Linked DNA regions of Homo sapiens: region 1 is linked to region 2. The links are contacts of gene promoters, found by promoter capture Hi-C in human tissues and cell types (Jung and others, 2019). All regions are on one chromosome and are shown on one strand. Each heading gives the region's core, a stretch centred on a gene start or on the middle of the fragment in contact. The rest is flanking DNA. Distances are from core to core; before and after follow the strand shown. Region 1 has its middle 170 kb from the start of LINC01747. Region 2 holds the start of GZF1 (GDNF inducible zinc finger protein 1).

Region 1 (2,726 bases), core at 40-2,539, 510 kb after region 2:
GTCCTCTTTTATTTTGTTCAGCAGTGGTTTGTAGTTCTCCTTGAAGAGGTCCTTCACATCCCTTGTAAGTTGGATTCCTAGATATTTTATTCACTTTGTCGCAATCGTGAATGGGAGGTCACTCATCATTTGGTTCTCTGTTGGTCTGTTATTGGTGTATAAGAATGCTTGTGATTTTTGCACATTGATTTTGTATCCTGAAACTTTGCTGAAGTTGCTTTATCAGCATAAGGAGACTTTTGGCTGAGATGATGGGGTTTTCTAAATATACAATCATGTCATCTGCAAATAGAGACAATTTGACTTTCTCTTTTCCTAATTGAATACGCTTTATTTCTTTCTCTTGCCTGATTGCCCTGACCAGAACTTCCAACACTATGTTGAATAGGAGTGGTGAGAGAGGGCATCCCTGTCTTGTGCCAAGTTTCAAAGGGAATGCTTGCAGTTTTTGCCCATTCAGTATGATATTGGCTGTGGGTTTATCATAAATAGCTCTTATTATTTTGAGATACGTTCCATCAATATCTAGTTTATTGAGAGTTTTTAGCATGAAGGCTGTTGAATTTTGTTGAAGGCTTTTTCTGCATCTATTGAGATAATCATGTGGTTTTTGTCTTTGGTTCTGTTTATGTGATGGATTACGTTTATTAATTTGCATATGTCGAACCAGCCTTGCATCCCAGGGATGAAACAAACTTGATTGTGGTGGATAAGCTTTTTGATGTGCTGCTGGATTTGGTTTGCCAGTATTTTATTGAGGATTTCCACATCGATGTTCACAGGGATATGGGTCTAAAATTCCCTTTTTCTGTTGTGTCTCTGCCAGGCTTTCGTATCAGGACAATGCTGGCCTCATAAAATGAGTTAGGGAGGATTCCCTCTTTTTCTATTGATGGAATATTTTCAGGAGGAATGGTAACAGCTCCTCTTTTTACCTCTGGTAGAATTCTGCTGTGAATCCATCTGGTCCTGTAGTTTTTTTGGTTAGTAGGCTATTAATTATTGCCTCAATTTCAGAGCCTGTTATTGGTCTATTCAGGGATTCAACTTCTTCCTGGTTTAGTATTGGGAGAGTGTATATGTCCGGGAATTTATCCATTTCTTCTAGATTTTGTAGTTTATTTGTGTAGGGGTGTTTACAGTATTTTCTGATGGTAGTTTGTATTTCTGTGGGATCGGTGGTGATATCCCTTTATCATTTTTTATTGCATCTATTTGATTCTTCTCTCTTCTTTATTAGTCTTGCTAGCAGTCTATCAATTTTGTTGATCTTTTCAAAAAAGTAAGTCCTGGATTCATTGATTTTTTGAAGGGTTTTTTTGTGTCTCTATCTCCTTCAGTTCTTCTCTGATCTTAGTTATTTCTTGCCTTCTGCTAGCTTTTGAATTTGTTTGCTCTTGCTTCTCTAGTTCATTTAATTATGATGTTAGGGTGTTGATTTTAGATCTTTCTTGCTTTCCCTTGTGGGCATTTAGTGCTACAAATTTCCCTCTACACACTGCTTTAAATGTGTCCCAGAGATTCTGGTATGTTGTGTATTTGTTCTTATTTGTTTCAAAGAATATCTTTATTTCTGCCTTCATTTCGTATGTACCCAGTAGTCATTCAGGAGCAGGTTATTCATTTTCCATGTAGTTGTGTGGTTTTGAGTGAGTTTCTTAATCCTCAGTTCTACTTTGATTGCACTGTGATCTGAAAGACAATTTGTTGTGATTTCTGTTCTTTTACATTTGCTGAGGAGTGCTTTACTTCCAATCATGTGGTCAGTTTTAGAATAAGTGTGAGGTGGTGCTGATAAGAATGTGTATTCTGTTGGTTTGTGGTGGAGAATTCTGTAGATGTCTATTAGGTCCACTTGGTGCAGAGCTGAGTTCAAGTCCTGGATATCCTTGTTAACCTTCTGTCTCATTGATCTCTCTAATATTGACAGTGGGGTGTTAAAGTCTCCCATTATTATTGTATGGGAGTCTAAGTCTCTTTCTAGGTCTCTAAGGATTTGCTTTATGAATCTGGGTGCTTGTGTATTGGGTGCATATATATTTAGGATAGTTAGCTCTTCTTGTTGAATTGATCCCTTTACCATTATGTAATGGCCTTCTTTGTCTCTTTTGATCTTTGTTGGTTTAAAGTCTGTTTTATCAGAGACTAGGATTGCAACCCCTGCTTTTTTTTGCTTTCCATTTGCTTGGTAGATCTTCCTCCATCCCTTTATTTTGAGCTTAAGTGTGTCTCTGCACATGAGATGGGTCTCCTGAATACAGCACACTGAGCGGTCTTGGCTCTTTAACCAATTTGCCAGTCTGTGTCTTTTAATTGGGGCATTTATCCCATTTACATTTAACGTTAATATTGTTATGTGTGAATTTGATCCTGTCATCATGATGTTAGCTGGTTATTTTGCCCGTTAGTTGATGCGGTTTCTTCCTAGCCTTGATGGTCTTTACAATTTGGCGTGTTTTTGCAGTGTCTGGTACCGGTTGTTCCTTTCCACGTTTAGTGCTTCCTTCAGGAGCTCTTGTAAGGCAGGCCTGGTGGTGACAAAATCTCTTAGCATTTGTTTGTCTGTAAAGGATTTTATTTCCCCTTCACTCGTGAAGCTTAGTTTGGCTGGATATGAAATTCTGGGTTGAAAATTCTTTTCTTTGAGAATGTTGAATATTGGTCCCCGCTCTCTTCTGGCTGGTAGAGTTTCTGCCAAGAGATCTGCTGTTAGTCTGATGGGCTTC
Region 2 (2,719 bases), core at 27-2,526:
TCTTTCCACTGCAGCGGGCATGCAAATTTCACCAACCCCACCTAAGGCCTCCAGATACCGTCACCCCATCGTCATTTCTGCTGCTTTGCCACAAACTCCCTGAATGTGTTTTCTCCCTGCCCTTCAGCTCCTGAATCTACCTTCCTCTTTGATTCCTGTTTCCATCCATCCAAAGCACATGCCTTCCTTCTAGCCTCCTTCGGCCAGACCACAGATGTCACCTCGGATTCAACGTGTCTAGAAAAAAAGTTGTCATCATCTTCCCTGATAAACTAGTCCCACCCCTCTCCCCTTCTCCAGTCTCATCAATGAGACCGCTCCCCACAACTAGCAGTCCCTCAAACATGGAAAAGACTGCCCTCTGGGAGTTCCGCTGTAAACAGGTACCTATGAGGCTTGATCAATGTCGCCTGAAGGAGACGCCCCAGTAAAACTGTGAGAACACTGACAAAGCCTAAGGAAGGGATCTATAAGAGTGGGGCTCTTATAGAGCCACTGGGGTTTCAGTGGTCCCAGCCCCAGCCTGGGGAAACAAGACTGCAGAGGGCTCTCTCAGCCTGATGCCCTGACTTCCCCAGACCTCTGCCAACAGGGCCCTCGAGGAGACCTGATTTCTCAATCAACAAAGTGGGTTCTGAGCGCGATTTCCTATGTTGCTTGGCTACTGGAGTGCAGGCACTGGAGGTGGCGACAGGGCAGTCTGCGGCCGGTGACAGCTGCGTATCCGCCGAATCTCATTGGCATTCCGGCCGCCTCCCAGTGCGCCCGGCATCTGCACCAACGTCGGCGGCCCCTGAATCCCCGAGGCTCACGGGGCCAGAGCCCTTCCAGGAGACGCTGCTACCCGCAGCCCAGTCCACGGCCACAAGGGCCGGGGTTTCCAGTGGGGCTTAAATCCGCCGCTGTCCTCGCCGCCCTCACGGCACCTCCCACCCTTCCCGCGCCACTTGGCCGCCCCAGCGCCCGGACGCCGCTCGGCCACTCCAAAGACGACCCAGAGAACAAACTACTGCAGCCACAGAGAAGCCCCTCCTCGGCCCGACGCGCCGCCTCCCGACGCGGGCATCCGGGGCCGCGTGGATCAGGCCCTCGGGCCGCCCCCTGCCCCCGCTCCCGCATCCCCGAGACGCGCAGGTCCACAGAGCAGCCGGGGCGCGCGGACAAAGAGGCGGCGGCGGGCGGCGAGGGGCCGGAGCCAGGCCTACGGGCCGCGCACTCACCTCCCAGCCGGCGCCCCCGCTGCAGCCGCTGTCCGCTGGACCAGGCCGGTAGGAACGGCCGGCCCGGCTGGGCGTGGCGTAGCACCCTGCGCGGGCACCGCCGATTGGTCGCTGCAGGCCCCTCCCCTCCCGCGGCCGGCCCCGCCCCTGGCGGGGCTGAGGAAGGGGCTGAGCCACACGTCGGGCGGCGGAGCGGTTCGGGCAGTTACCTGATCTGGCCGCGCGACTGACTGGCGACGCCGGATTGCGTCACCCGCCGCATTGCGTCACCCGCCGCGAGCCAAGGCCTGCGCCTGCGCAGGAGACAGCGACGTCTGCGCTGCGGCACGCCACAGGGGGGCGGGGCCAGTCGCGAAAAGTCACGTGAGCGTCAGATTCGCGTGGTCACTTTCGCGTCCATTCCGGGCTTCTGGCCGCAAGGCGCCAGCGCTTCCGGGCCCCAGCAGCCTGCGGTCAGGGCCTGCAGCTGGCTTCCCACTAAGAGCTGCTCACGTCCCCGAGGCCGAGCGCACCCTTAGGGCACGGTGGCCACGCGAGGGACCTCGCGGAAAGCCGGGCTTGGAGCTGGTACTCACCTTGGCTACTAGGGGCGCAGATGCCTCCACGGGCGCTGGAGAACTGGCGCCAGGCGGGGCTCGGCGCGGCGCTCTCCTCTGGGGCGCTTCTTCCGCGGTGCCCCCGCCCTGCTGGGGGGCTCGGCGCGCCAGGAGCCGGGACCGCACCCTGCCGTCTTTACTGCAGGGCTTTATTTCCAGGAGTTCCCATTCGGGCGAAAGCTTTGTTCACTACAGAACTTCCCCAGAGACCCATCCACTCTTCGGGGAAAGCACAATTGATTCCCTAAGATTCGCTGACTCCTCGAAATCTTGCTGTTTCCACCAATTCTTGCTCAATACTAACTAAAGCCCGCTTTGAAACACCTTCCTTGAGTCAGACTTCCAGTTCTCAATAAACTGACCTTGCCTTTTGCTCCCAGCCATTGGTAAAGCTTTGCCAGGTCATGCTGTCCCTTACTGTGGCCAGCAGTTAACTCAGCCTTGTCTTACCGACACGTTGAGTTTGTAATGTTTGGGGACTGTCAGGACAAATACAAATTTAAAATAAGGTTTACTACTTCCTGTTGAAAATATGAGATTTCCCTCCCTTTTTCTTCGAACATTTACTTTTAGAAAATTGGTAATTAGTGTAAGTACTTTTTCCTCTCTTTGAAATATATAAATCCTTTTGAAGACTAGTTAGGCCTTTTTGTGCGCTTTATAACCTAGATATGTCTTTTTCTAGGACCTAGGAGCCATCTCTTTAAGTATCAAGGGAGTTAATGCCCCTGTCTCCCAGTTTTAATGGGGGAGTAGGAGCCTAACTTCAGTGGGCCCTTTGCTCCAACTTACAAAATTATCTCATATCATAAAGATACAAGTTTCTTTTTCCTCTAGATAAAGCCAATTGGCTAACACAGAGGATCATCCCAAATATCAGGTTAGATGAACTGTGTGTGATGA

Evidence for each region. The method cuts DNA at HindIII sites, captures the fragments that hold promoters and counts their contacts. A contact is called where the count stands out against the background at its distance.
Region 1: a fragment that was not itself captured here is called in contact with the fragment with the promoter of GZF1 in region 2 in 1 of the 25 tissues and cell types used here (heart right ventricle).

What each region holds. Positions count from the first base shown.
Region 1 is chr20:22,853,165-22,855,890 of GRCh38, reverse strand. No RefSeq gene overlaps it. Among named protein-coding and RNA genes, the nearest start is that of LINC01747, 170 kb to the right of the region's middle. The HindIII fragment of the contact is 5,856 bases long and covers 1-2,726 here.
Region 2 is chr20:23,360,739-23,363,457 of GRCh38, reverse strand. It overlaps GZF1 (GDNF inducible zinc finger protein 1), which reads right to left and starts at 1,276. Exons shown (of 6, transcript NM_022482.5): 1 at 1,221-1,276. RefSeq lists silencers at 991-1,480, 1,901-1,990 and an enhancer at 1,551-1,810. The HindIII fragment of the contact is 9,373 bases long and covers 1-2,719 here.